2 separate regions of the Homo sapiens genome follow, and region 1 is linked to region 2. The links are contacts of gene promoters, found by promoter capture Hi-C in blood cells and fetal thymus (Javierre and others, 2016). All regions are on one chromosome and are shown on one strand. Each heading gives the region's core, a stretch centred on a gene start or on the middle of the fragment in contact. The rest is flanking DNA. Distances are from core to core; before and after follow the strand shown.

Evidence for each region. The method cuts DNA at HindIII sites, captures the fragments that hold promoters and counts their contacts. A CHiCAGO score of 5 or more calls a contact.
Region 1: a contact is called between a fragment that was not itself captured here and the fragment with the promoter of BICDL1 in region 2, in 7 of 17 cell types (activated CD4 T cells, naive CD4 T cells, non-activated CD4 T cells and 4 more). The highest score is 11.2, in activated CD4 T cells.

Annotation. Positions count from the first base shown.
Region 1 is chr12:120,085,647-120,092,351 of GRCh38, forward strand. BICDL1 (BICD family like cargo adaptor 1) reads left to right here. Exons shown (of 10, transcript NM_001367886.1): 9 at 4,305-4,425. Among named protein-coding and RNA genes, the nearest start is that of RAB35, 28 kb to the right of the region's middle. RefSeq lists enhancers at 1,679-1,758, 5,133-5,725. The HindIII fragment of the contact is 1,926 bases long and covers 4,416-6,341 here.
Region 2 is chr12:119,984,905-119,992,081 of GRCh38, forward strand. It overlaps BICDL1 (BICD family like cargo adaptor 1), which reads left to right and starts at 4,332. Exons shown (of 10, transcript NM_001367886.1): 1 at 4,332-5,393. The coding sequence starts at 4,965. RefSeq lists silencers at 3,880-3,939, 3,960-4,599, 4,880-4,969, 5,020-5,089, 5,100-5,309 and 2 more and enhancers at 4,003-4,976, 4,977-5,948. The HindIII fragment of the contact is 12,107 bases long and covers 2,428-7,177 here.

The DNA.
Region 1 (6,705 bases), core at 4,129-6,628, 100 kb after region 2:
TAAAAATACAAATAAAAAATTAGCTGAGTGTGGTGGTACATTCTTGGAGTCGCAGAGGTGGGAGGATCACTTGAGCCCAGAAGGTTGAGGCTGCAGTGAGCTGTGATCATGCCACTGCACTCCAGCCTGGATGACAGAGCAAGATCCTGCCTCAAAAAAAAAAAAAAAAAAAAAAGGCAGAATGAAGATAGAAGTACACATGGGTTGGTTACCTTCTCTCAGACAAGAAGCTGAACATTAAGATCATATTCTGTCATCAGCATGGAAGGTGGGATGGAAGGTGGGGGATACAAACAGAGAAAGTGTCAGGGTGCAGGAGAGAAGAAGCAAGTTGTCCAGTCTTTCTCCCTTTAAAAAAAAAAAAAAAAAAAAGTAAAACCTAGCTCTGCCACCTGGGTGAGCAAATCTACATGAAACCTTGTAATGCATGCTCTTGCCTGCTTTCAAAGGAGGCCCAGTTACTATCCAGGAGTCTGATTAGACTTGCAAATTCTCCCCTCTGGAAGGATGCCCCCAGTAGGGAGAACTCTGGAGCAAGGGTCCTGTCCTTCCTGGACTCCTATAGAACAGGGCTGGCTGGGCAGTTAGGTTACTCTGGGAGGATAGTTCTTTTCCCATACCTTAGAAATGAATTTTTGTTATACAAGAATTGAGACGACAAGCCTAAGGAATCATTTAAAGAGGAAACCACACCCCCCATTTGTATAGTAACTTAGTTTTACCAGATACTTCTTCCATATACGTTATCTCTGATTCTCCATCCTGGCCGCACATTACAATCATCTGGGGAGCGCTCAGACACCAGGAACCTCACCAGAACAATACAGTTGAAATCACGGGGTGGGGTCAGTTGGGTGGGGCCCACTTCTTTCCCCCTTGATTTTAATGTGTAGTCAGGGGTGAGAATCCCTAAGAAATATAACTTCCTTCTCGTCACTGGGCTGCAGAAACCTTAAGGTGCACCTTCTCCTATACAATAAATGAGTTTCAGGAAAATTAAGTAGCAATTTTTTTATCTCCTTGCAGGTGAAGGGCCTTCACTAAAACCAAAAATAAATCTTGGGCTAGCAATCTGCCTTACAAAAACAAGTCAGTTACTAGTGGTTTCATTTGTAAAAAGGAATTATTCGAGCCCTTGGAATATTCCTATTTTTAAAATGTGATTAATGTGTTGATCCTGGTCTGGGGTTTCCCATGAATGACGAGCACTTATTCCTTGGTGAGCAAATGTCCCAACGGTGCAGCGCGTGGCCAGGATTGGAGGTCGTCCAGGCAGCCCCTGCCTCAGGGCGTTTTTTGGCAAGGAAGGGAACCCCACCATGCCCGGCGCTGCGCCGCGGCTGTAGCCCTGGGCCCATCTGTCCCTCGCCGGCAACGTTAGTCAGCACATTCCTGGGGCTCCCGCTGCTCTCGGCGCCACCTGCCGGGGGACGCCGGAAGCTCAGGAGGCTGTGGCTGTCGTGGGGCACCACGGGTTCTGACGCTACTGGAGGGGTGTCCATGGCAACCGATGCCGCGTGAGGATTTCCGCTGTTTGCTGCCAGCCAATAGCAGTGGGTGTGACGGAGGCAGCCTTCGGCATCTGAGCCCTCAGCATCCATTAGACGGGCTCGGGTCCCGTCGCTGCCGCAGTGGGCGGGGCTGACGCGGTGGCTGAGCTGTCTGGAGCGGTTTCTCTAGGGAAGGCAGGCGGGCCGGCGGGCGGGGCGCACTTGCGGTGTCGGCACAGGTGACTAATTGCTCGGTAGACCTGAAGCCAAAGAAGAAGTGCTGGTCGCAGCAGTGGCCTGAGCACTTTGCAAGTGGGATCCACCTGTTCCTTTTTCTGGCCGCACTTCGGTTAGTGCGGTCGGTGTTGTGAAGCTCGAGCTAGGCGGCCTCTGCAGGCGGATCCTCTAGCTGCCCTTGAGCCCTGCACATTAGTCGCTGGCCCTGTACAAGGAGCATGCTTTTGTTAGCTTTGCTGTTTTGAGTGCTTAAGGGAGCGATTAATGAAGGCAAGGGCTAAATAATACACGTTTCTGCAGTTGGGCAACCAGGGCTGCCTCTGCAGAGGTCCTTCCACCTTTATTCCCGTTCCCCTGCCCTCGAAAAAAATTAATTTTCTTTTGCATTGAACAGCCGTGATTTAGGAATGTTGGGAAAGGTGAACAAAGTAATACGTGAAACACAAATGTGAAAATAAAAAAATGCAAAATAATGTCGGAGGAGTTACCCATCAGTAATCATCACCCAGAGATAACCAACTAGACATTTTTGTGCATATCCTTGAACACACAGGCAGTTTTTTGTTTTGTTTTGAGACAGAGTTTCGCTCTTGTTGCCCAGGCTGGAGTGCAGTGGCGTGATCTTGGCTCACTGTAACCTCCGCCTCCTGGATTCAAGTGATCTCCTACCTCAGCCTCCTGAGTAGCTGGGATTACAGGCAGCATGCGCCACCACGCCCGGCAAATTTTTGTATTTTTAGTAGAGGCGGGGTTTCTCCTTGTTGGTCAGGCTGGTCTCGAACTCCCAACCTCAGGTGATCCGCCCACCTTGGCCTCCCAAAGTGCTGGGGATTAGAGGCGTGAGCCACAGCACCCTGCGGACACAGGCAGTTTTTGTTTTACAAAACTAGTATTATACTAGACCTTGTTTTCTGGTGCTTTTTCCACTCAGCAATATGTTATGAACTGTCAATAAATATTCTACCTCATGGTTTTTTGTGGGGTTTTGTTTTTATTTTTTTGAGACGGAGTCTTGCTCTATTGCCCAGGCTGGAGTGCAGTGGCACAATCTGGGCTCACTGCAAGCTCCACCTCCCAGGTTCAAGCGATTCTCCTGCCTCAGCCTCCCGAGTAGCTGGGATTACAGGCACCTGCCACCACACCCAGCTAATTTTTGTATTTTTAGCAGAGATGGGTTTTCGCCATGTTGGCCAGGCTGGTCTCGAACTCCTGACCTCAGGTGATCCTTCCACCTTGGCCTCCCAAAGTGCTGGGATTACAGGCACGAGCCACCGCGCCTGGCCACACTTTATGGGGTTTTTTTGTTTTTTTGAGACGGAGTCTTGTTCTGTCACCCAGGCTGCAGTGCAGTGGCGCGATCTGGGCTTACTGCAAGCTCCGCCTCCCGGGTTCACGCCATTCTCCTGCCTCAGCCTCGCCAGTAGCTGGGACTACAGGCACCTGCCGCCATGCCTGGCTAATTTTTGGTATTTTTAGTAGAGACGGGGTTTCACTGTTAGCCAGGATGGTCTCAATCTCCTGACCTCGTGATCCGCCCGCCTTGGCCTCCCAAAGTGCTGGAATTACAGGGGTGAGCCACCGCACCCGGCCTACTTTATGGTTTTTACTGGTGACTGTATTCCATCCCATCATTCATGACCACTTGGCTACTCTGACTAGCTAAGCTATAGTGATCACCACTGTGTGGCTATCTTCGCACACCTCTGTATCTTCAGGACAGTTCCCCTAAGGGGGATTGCTAACTACAAGGAATCCCTTCTATACCAGCAGGACAAGGTTCCTGCCTTCCAGTGGGGAATGGGCCATTTTGGGAAAGGATGAGTAGCTCCTTTATGCTGTGTGAGGCTTTTGATCCCCTCTGGGTTCCAGTCCTTATTTTAGTATTGTCCTTTTTCAACGTGTGTGTGTGTGTGTGTATGTGTGTGTGTGTGGGGTGTGACGGAGTTCTGCTCTTTCAACGTGTGTGTGGCGTGTGTGTGTGACGGAGTTCTGCTCTTTCAACGTGTGTGTGTGTGTGGTGTGTGTGTGTGTGACGGAGTTCTGCTCTTTTTGCCCAGGATGGAGTGCAATGGTGCAATCTCGGCTCACTGCAACCTCCTTCTCCTGGGTTCAAGCAATTCTCCTGCCTCAGCCCGAGTAACTGGGATTACAGGCATGTGCCACCACGCCTGGCTAATTTTGTATTTTTAGTAGAGACAGGGTTTCTCCATGTTGGTCAGGCTGGTCTCGAACCCTCGATCTCAGGTGATCCACCCGCCTCGGCCTCCCAAAGTGCTGGGATTACAGGCATGAGCCACCACACCCGGCCTCAACTTCTGTTTCTTTATCCGTGAGGTGGGGATGACAAATATTCCTTTCACCTACAGGTTGGTTATGAAAACTGGGAGAATATATGTGAAAACATGTTGCAAACTAACCCTCTGCAGGCAACATCATAGTTATTGTTGCAGCTGCTATTTGTTGTGAGTTCAGGGTCAGAGCCTGTTTCCTCATCCTGGGACTCCAGGTGCCCCAAGTAAAGACCAAGATGCCTCTGGCACAAGGTGTCCATGTTCACCCTGGCTTGTCTGTTCTCAGGAAGAATGCTGTGGAGCTGGAACTTGCCAAGTGCAGGATGGATATGATGTCTCTGAACAGCCAGTTGCTGGATGCCATTCAGCAGAAACTGAACCTCTCGCAGCAGCTGGAAGCTTGGCAGGTAAACTGGAGCCTGAGATCCAGGGCGAGAGGAGACTCCAGGAGGAATCTCTGAACCCAGGCAGAGTGTAAGGAGAGTTTGCCACTGGAGGGTTCCATGTGACTGGGTGAACAGCACATCCCAGTCTTCACCTGGCAAGATCCAGAGCTCATGTCCCCTAGTCCTTGGGGAAGAATGCTTAAGGATGCTTTTGAGCGACAGTGCCCAGGCTGCTGCTGTCTGGAGATGTAGTGATCTCCAGACTTGGAATGGGGCCCCCTTTCAGCTGGTTGTCTGGGCTTTAAGCTGGAAAGAAACAACTGGTTAACATGGAGGCCCAGGAAGCTCAGTATAATTGCATGAAAATTCACAGCGGGATGCGGCTCAGCAACCCTCCTGCAGCCAGCAGCTGCTACCCTTCCCCTTCTCAAGGGCCAGCCTCCATTTTCCAAAGAGCACTGTGCTGGCACAGGCCCTGGGGAAGAGGAGTCAGTGGGTCCCTCTCTAGACCCACTGTTTTCAGGGTCCAGCATGGCTCCCCCACTGGACTGGGCTGTGGCTGGCTGGGTTTTGTTCGTGAGGTTGAGGTAGCACAGTTTTAGGATATGGGTATAAACATTAATATTTCTCCCCAAGAATTCTCATCCAGACAGATGAAAAGCCGTCTGTGGCTTTACAAGGTAAGCCCCCCGTGGAGGGCAGGTTGTTGGTGACCATTCCTCCCAGGGCCCCATGGGGCTGGCAGCCAGAACACTGGCCCCACCGCAGGGTGCCCGTCCCTGGCTCCTTGGCTCCTGCATGGCAGCCAGCTGGCCGCGCCCTGGCTGACCGCTGCTCTCTCTCTTCTCTCCCGGCTACAGTTTGCTTCCTCAGGGCTTTTTACTATCTGGCTCCTTTGGTTTCTGATCTAGTGGCCTTTCTCAGTTCCCGTATCAACAGCTTTAGTTGTACACCCCTCCTGCCTTTGAGGTGAGCCTGAGCCCTACATCCCATCCACCGTCTCGCCCTGCCATTGCTGTGCTGCCCCGCCGCCTCCCCTCATGGCCCACTGTGTTCTGTGTGCTGGAGCCTGGCGTCATCTCTGTGCAGTGTGACATGCCCTCAAGTCCCAGCTCCCTCCTCCATCACAGTCGCGTCCAGTGAGCTCTTCAGCAGTGTGTGGCCCAGTGCTAACGGCTGGTGCCGTCTTCTCATAGATGGCTGTTCCATCCACTGAGGGACCAGCAGGCCTGGAATGATGAGCAGCGTGTGTCTGGGAAACTCTAAAGGGCGACCTGGACAGACCTGATTGCTTAAAGTTAAAAAAATGAAGTTTTCAGTGTGCCAAACAAAACATTGGCAGCTTTGAAAGGTTGGTTTTTGAAAGACCCTTTAGCATTCCTACATTGGATTTAGCGTAGATTTTACTGAGCACGTCGTAAGTGCAGGGCACTGTGCCAAGGATCATATACTAGACCCTTATAAGGAGGGACCGTGTGTTGGCAAATACCTGGCACAGTGCCAGCTCTGAGGGGCAAGTGGAAAAGGGGATGGAAGAGAAGGGAAGAAGACAAGGGCAAGGAGAAGACCAGGAATGAGCTGAGTCTGAAAGACAGGGTTGAGAGAATAGGGAGGCTGGAGAGCAGGCCCTGAGCCAGAGCGCGTGAGGGGTCCACACTCACTGCTACCCCACGATGACTCAGGAAGGCCCCTTTGTTTCATGCTGAAACCTGCAGAGATATTAGAATGACACCCATGGGTGGGAGGGAGGAGGAGTGGACAAGCTGCTCAGATGGAGGGGCCCAGCCAGCCCAACTTCATGCCCTCATCTCGTCAGTGGCTGCTCGGAACCAAAGAGGTCATCTGCCCTGGCCACAGGGAGCCTGCCCTGAACACAGGCCTCACCTGTCCTGTGCTCGGACACCACAGGCTGACTCACTCAGGGGTTTAGCCAGAAAAGCTTGGGGTCTTACCAGGATGCCGCAGAGCCTGCCAGGTTCAAGTCATGAAGGAATCGAGCAGACACATGTTACATTTACTGATGATGCTAATTACACAGGCTGCTCATATTTCTAAAGCAGGAGTTTTCAAACTTTGTTAGTGGCAGAACTTTTGTCAAATGGAGTCTTACCCAGAGTCAGAATCTAGCCACCAAAATGGGAAGGGAGTGGAGCTGCCCTGTCCACAGGCTTCTCTATGGGAAAGGCTGCTGTTCTGTAAAACATGGTGGGGCGGGCTGTGGGGAGGAAGGCATTTTCTGGACCACATGAACGAATTCGAGTTGGGGGACGGTCCTACCCCAGTGAGGAAGCTGAAAGAAAT
Region 2 (7,177 bases), core at 3,082-5,581:
TATTAATGAATGTGATTAGGCTGATATTGTGTAATGACATGTGACAATATTTGTAAGATCTGCATAACTCAGACATTTTCCAAATGAAAATACATGCTGTTATACAATCAATCATACATATGTAAAAAATCCATTCAAAGTGAAAAATAGATCAATGGGATTTCCTTGACATGGTTTTAGATTTCACATTGCAACTAACCTTTAAGAAACTACAACTTGTCATCTGGGCGCAGTGGCTCACGCCTGTAATCCCAGCACTTTGGGAGGCTGAGGTGGGTGGATCACCTGAGGTCAGGAGTTCAAGACCAGCCTGGCCAACATAGTGAAACCCCGTCTCTACTAAAAATACCAAAATTAGCCAAGTGTGGGGGCACATGCCTGTAGTCCCAGCTACTTGGGAGGCTGAGGCAGGAGAATCACTTGACCTGGGAGGTGGAGGATGCAGCGAGCCAAGATTGCGCCACTGCACTCACTCCAGCCTGGGCAACAGAGTGAGACTCCATCTCAAGAAAGAAAGAAAGAGAGAGAGAGAGAGAAAGAAAGAAACTATAACTTGTCAAGTTTGGGTGTAATATCAAAGAAAAATATCCAAAATGAAAAGGCTACTAAAATATTCCTCCTTTTCCCAACCACATATCTTTGTGAGTCCAAATTTTCTTCATATATTTCAAAATATCATACATTATAGATATATCCAAATACAAGAATTCACTTTTCTACTGTTAAGCCATACATTACAGAGGTTTACAAAAATGAAGAATAACGCCATTCTTCTCACTAGTTTTTTTTACATTTAGGACCATATAGTTATTGTTCATAAAAATTCATTATAGTTACATATAATAGGTTTATCATAAATATTTAAAATGAATTAATTATTTAAAAACTTTTTTTTTGGAGATGGAGTCTCACTCTGTCACCCAGGCTGGAGTGCAGTGGCGTGACCTTGGCTCACTGCAACGTCCGCCTCCCAGGTTCAAACGATCCTCCCGCCTCAGCCTCCTGAGTAGCTGGGACTACAGGCACATGCCACCATGCACAGCTAATTTTTGTATTTTTAGTAGAGACAGGGTTTTGCCATGCTGGCCAGGCTGGTCTTGAACTCATTACCCCAAGTGATCTGCCTGCCTCGGCCTCCCAAAGTGCTAGGATTACAAGCATGAGCCACCGTACCCGGCCCAAGAGTGTAATGAGATTCTGAGACCAAAATGTTTAAGAACCACTATTTTGAATAGTTCTGCAAAGTTGGGCTGGTTCTCCCAGAAAGACAGTGCTTAGAGCCAAACCTACTGTAAGAAGTGAACATTTCCTAGTAAGGTTCAGCAGTGGAACATTGTTAGGAAGGAAATTCAGAAGCTGGAGTTAGAATTGTAACAGTTCATTTTCACAGTAACAGATAAGTGGAACAGATTAGGACCATTGGGCTCAAGGCAGGCAAACAAAGTCATTTTTTGAAAGATAGGCTGCATGTCTGCATTAAGGAAAAAGAGCTGAAACTCTTTTTTTTTTTTTTTTTTTTGACAAGTTCTTGCTCTGTCACCCAGACTGGAGTGCAATAGTATGATCAGGGCTCACTGCAGCCTTGATCTTCCAGGCTCAACTCACCCTCCCATCTCAGCCTCCTGAGTAGCTGGGGCTATAGGCACACACCACCATGCCTGGCTAATTTTTTTGTATTTTTTGTAGAGACGGGGTTTTGGCCATGTTGTCCAGGCTAGTCTCAAACTCCTGGGCTTATAAGACCCTCCCACTTTGGCCTCCCAAAATGCTGGGGTCATAGGCATGAGCCACCCAACTGGTGGAGAGACAGGATCTTGCCATGTTGCCTGTTATAAGTAAAATGTTTATTTAGAAACAGAATGCTTGTTCCTCGGTACCACGAGGAAAAATCAGCATTTAGAGAGAAAGTTTTCTCAGCAATGCAATTTTAGTTTCTGCAGAAAGGGTGCTCCTTGCAGCTGGAACAATGGCAAGAGCACACCTGAATAAAGGAAAGAAGCAATTTTTATCCCTTACGCAGTTTGTCCCTGCTACTGTGCCTTGTCTCCATTGGCTGGAGCCAGACCTTACAATTTAAACTGAACCTGATAGGCTAACAACTTAAAACTTTTCTAAATAGGTAAAAGCAATGGAGAACAAAGGAAAAGAGGAAGTTATTTATGAAAAGACTTAGAAAAGTAGTAACATTCCCAAATAGGGAAGGGGCATAGGCTGCAAGCTGGGACATGCCAGTGAGCATGTCCAGCACAGGTATCTTGGTTAAAGTACATGGACATAGAATGTACTCATTCCCTTAGATCTAACAGCTACATAGGAAAGGGCTTAACAGAGAGTTATTAGCATAAAATAAGGTGGCTTGAAGGAAGTTAGTCTTTAAAAGAAACCATTATTTCTAACACTTATTATTCATTCTTTAACAAGAAGGGAAGCTTTGAAGAGGAAACTTTACTTTCTACATTGTCCAAGCTGGTCTTGAACTCCTGGGCTCAAGCAATCCTCCTGCCTCAGCCTCCCGAAGTGCTGAGATTATAGGCAGGAGCCACAGAGCCTGGCCCTGTTTGTTCTTGATGTGTCTCCAGACATATTAGGGAGAAATTTGTCCTTCTGTGATTCAAATAAGACAAAAGGAAGTGGCAATTGGATCTCACCTCTGGCCCACAATTCCAGCTCAAGGTGGGAGGTCATAATAAAAAGTGTTAGAACATTTCCTTGCTGGAATGGTAACATGGTCAACTGCAGAAATTTAGCTCTAAGATTGATGTGGGAATCCCTCAACTGTCTGTCTCCTTTCCAGTCAACAAGTGAACAATGCCAGCCCTGAGGCCCAGGAGCTTTTCAGATTCTGGCCTTCAGTCTAAGGGTAACGATGTTAAAACTTGAATATTGTTTAGGCTCTGAATTTAATAAGCGATAAAAACCATGAGAAACTATTTGACCCATTTCAGCCTCTTGATGTTCTGAAATTTCCATCTCACTGGGATGAAAAGAAGAAAGGCATGATCCAAGTAAAAAATGGGTTGTCTGTCCAAGAGGAAAAGGAAGCATAGGGACGAATTCTAGCTTTAGATGGGATTGTTTCTGGAAATAGGAGACACGTAGCACCACCAACGAGGTCAACACCAAGGAATGACTGCAAGTCACCCAGTAGGCTCTCCAAACCTTCCTTTAATCATTGAGGAAATGTTCCTTCCATATCCACCCAATCCATCTTGGTCACAAAGGACCATTTATCTTCCTCAAGACTGCTTCTATGTGAAGAAAATAAAGAATAATGATTCACGTGATCCCTGGCGTCGGCCTGGCTAGATCTCAATCCTGACTCTACCAGTTGTAATGACCTGGGCAGACGATGCCATCTCTCAGGCTTTAATTTCCTTCTCTGTTAAAATGACAAGCGGCAGTACTGATTTTATAAAGTTCTTGTGAGGATTATCTAAAATAATGACTATCAAGCACTTAATACAGGACATGGCACACACTGAGTGCCGAATAAACGGTAGTTATTATTAGGGAGGTTCTTTGCTTCGTATTCCCATCTGTGAGCAGTTTTTTCCGTTATTTCTCCGCAGAAACCCTTTCTCTCCGGGCTGCTGATCTGCGAAGCATCTGGTCCTTCATATCCCTGAGTCATCAGCATGAAGATGCCTGGTTTCCGAAGTCCTCCCTCCTCCTACTGCTCTCTAGGGCTCCCTCTCCTGACTGCTTAGTTCTCCTGGGGGCCCAGACCTAAATTTCGTGAGGGTATGTCTTTCTCGGGGCCGGGTCACCAGTCTTGGAGGAATGTCCTCAGTCCCCTTTGCCCCAGACACCACCAGAGATGCGGCAACAGAACTCTGAGGCGCGCCCCGGCTTCCAAGTAGCTGGGGGCGGGGCCGCGCCTGGAGGTGAGCAGCAGGCGGTGGGCGGGGCCGCGCTCCGTCCGAGGTGAGAGCGAGGCCGGGTGCGAGGCCACACCCCGAGGTACGAGAGCTGAGGGCGTGGCCACACCCCAGCTCTGAGCGAGGCTGAGGGCGGAACCGCACCCCGAAGTGGGTGCAAGGCTGGGGGCGTGGCCGCGCGGTGAGGCAGCCAGGACCGTGAGGGATGCGCCAGCCGCCTCCGCAGGCGGCGCGCGCAGCCGCCCGCAGGGCGTGAGGCAGAGCAGGGGTTAAGGCCGCCGGCGCCACCTGGGCGTCGCTGAGGAGACCCGCGAGCCGGCGAATCCCGCGCGGGCGGGGCGAACAGGTGCCCGCGCGCGTCAGGCGCCGGCAAGGGGCGGGGCGAGGGGACGCGGCCGGAAGCCCGGGGCGGGGCGCTGCCGGCCCGGTGAGCCGGGAGGAGCCGGGGAAGGCAGGAAGGAGCTCGCCGGGTTGCGCGGCGCGCGATGTGGAGCCGCCGCCTCGGCCCCTGCAGCAGCAGCAGCCGCCGTCGCCGCCGCTGCTGCTGGGGCTGCCGCGGAGCCGGGGGTCATGGAGTGCGGCTGCAGAGAGCGGCCGCCGGCAACAGCAGCAGCAGCAGGAAGCGTCGCGGCGACAGCGGAGCGCAGCCCGCCCCGTGAGGCGCTGCCCGGCCGGCGGCGGCAGCAGCAGCAGCAGCGGCAGCGGCAACAGGGCGGCTGAGAACCCGGCGGCGGCGTTCCTCCTCGCTTCCTCCCCTCCCGCTTCGCCGACCCTCAGTCTCTGTTCCTGAGTCCTCCCTTCCCCAGCCTTCCCGTTCCCACCACCTACTCCGCCACTACCCCCACCCCCTCCTCCCGCGCGCGCCTGAGCAGCTGAGCCCGGGGGCGGGGGAGGGGGCGCGTGCCGCCGGCGCGGGGGAGGGGCGGGCCGGCGCGCGCCGCGCCCAGGGCTCGCGGGGACCCGGGGGCGCGTGCCGCGGCGCGAGGCGAGGCGCGGGACGCGGGGCGGCGCGGCAGGGCCCCTCCCCCCTGCAGCCTGGCGCGCGCGGGCCGGGCCGCACCGCTGCGGGCTCCGCGCGCGCGGGCCATGTCCGCTTTCTGCCTGGGCTTGGTCGGCCGCGCTTCAGCACCCGCCGAGCCGGACAGCGCCTGCTGCATGGAGCTGCCCGCCGCGGCCGGGGACGCAGTCCGGAGTCCCGCCGCCGCCGCCGCCCTCATCTTCCCCGGGGGCTCCGGGGAGCTAGAACTGGCGTTAGAGGAGGAGCTGGCGCTGCTGGCGGCCGGGGAGCGGCCGTCCGACCCCGGGGAACACCCTCAGGCCGAGCCTGGGTCTCTGGCCGAGGGGGCCGGACCGCAGCCGCCGCCCTCCCAGGACCCCGAGCTGCTGTCGGTGATCCGACAGAAGGAGAAGGATCTGGTGTTGGCGGCCCGGCTGGGTAAGGCGCTGCTCGAGAGGAACCAGGACATGAGCCGGCAGTACGAGCAGATGCATAAGGAGCTGACAGACAAGCTCGAGGTGAGGACCTCCCTCCAGGGATGGGTGGGGAGCAGGGGCCGCCCAGGCACGCGCCCGGCCCTGGGCAGTTAGGGAACCACTCACCCCCACTTCGTTGCTCACCCTACCTCGCAGAAAATCTGGAATGAATGGGGGAGGGAGGATGGAGGATTATCAGATTTCGTTGAACCCACTTGACTTCCCCACCCCGCTCACAGCAAATGGGTCCATGCGTGGCTCCAGCCGCTGTGGGCCGTTCTATATACGTACTGTACCCAGCATCTAAAATAGAGCTTACAGTATGACTATATAGCACTGAGGTGATGTCTGCATACAGAGAAATGAGGAAGTCGGGAAGCATTTAAAATATGTTGCAGGTTTTCAGAGCAGTTAATCTCTAATCAGGGTGTTAGCCTAAAGCCTTCCAGTTTGGGCGTTAAGGCCTTTAGATGCCCTTGTCTTAACTTCCTGGCAGCTCAGAGTTGTGGGAAACAAGTGCCCCTAAAGGAGCTTTATATAGCCTTCAAATGCTCAGGGATTAGGAAATGTGGTTCCATTGCAGAAATCAGGCGAGCCAGGGCTCAACATGTGACCGCTGGTAGTGGATTTAATTTGGGCCTCAGTATTTATGTGTATTTAAACAGTACTTTTCTGTGTTCTGGGTCTCAGGCTTGCAATTGAATGACCAAATGCAACCTATGAGAACCATATTACTTTAACTTCTGTTATAAAATACCTGTTAAGGTATCCGTAATATTTCTGCCAGTTCTCTAGGCAGTCTTTCAGAGTTGTTTGTTTTCTTGCCCTTAACTAGAAAAGGGCCTTGAATGCAGTACAGAATGCCAGCATTTCTAAAAATTAGATTGCAAAAAAAAGGGGCAGGGGGATGGGGAGAGGGAGTCACCTGTGACTTACCTTTCCTGCCTGTGCGTTTACTATTATTGTTACCTAGTTTGGTTGCAGCCAGCTCTTTTCATTCTTAGTTACAGCAAGACAATAGTACAGACCTGAATGAGGTTTGAAATTGACCCTAGTCAGGTTCCGTATCTCTGCTACTGGTTGAACAGTCAGAATGGAAATTCAGAAATATTCTGTAATAAGATTTAAGTATGCCTATAGTCCAGCGACGTAAAAGTAAATCCGGGAGAAAAAAAGGAAACCTGTGAGTGCCCTGTAGTTCGGTTGTCCTGCTAACTAGGTCTGCCAGTCGATGAACTCCTGAGATACCTCTCTGAAAAGTCGTTTGTGAAACCTATAGGTAGACTGCCAAAAAGCAGCCTAATGAATTGAATTGTTTAATTTTCACTTGAAGTAGAGGTCTAGAAATAAAAAGCCTTCCTTTTTTTTTTATAAAGAGATTCAGTTGTACGACTTTGTAAAGAAGTACAACTACAGAGATTTATACTTGTGATTTGAAATTTCTTCAGTGAAGGACTTGATTGAAGAGACAGCTGACTTGAAAGGAGCACCGTATCAGTTTGATTAGTGCCAGATTTCATAGTAATCCTGAGTGTGCAATTACATACATTCTGGGTTCCATGTGGAGCCTTTATACATTTCTTCAACATAGGGCAAAGATTTCAGAATGGTAACAAAAAAAGGTTGTATTGTAAAAGAATAAATTATCTTTGACATTTTGTTATTTACTTAATGGACAACAATAGTTTAAAACTCTTTAAACTATTTTTTAAAACCTTCATTCCTCTGCAGGTCAGCATATGAACTCTAGTTTTAAAAGTTCAATTTTAAGTTCTGGAGATAGTCGCACAACAATGTGAATATAACTAACATATACTTAACATATA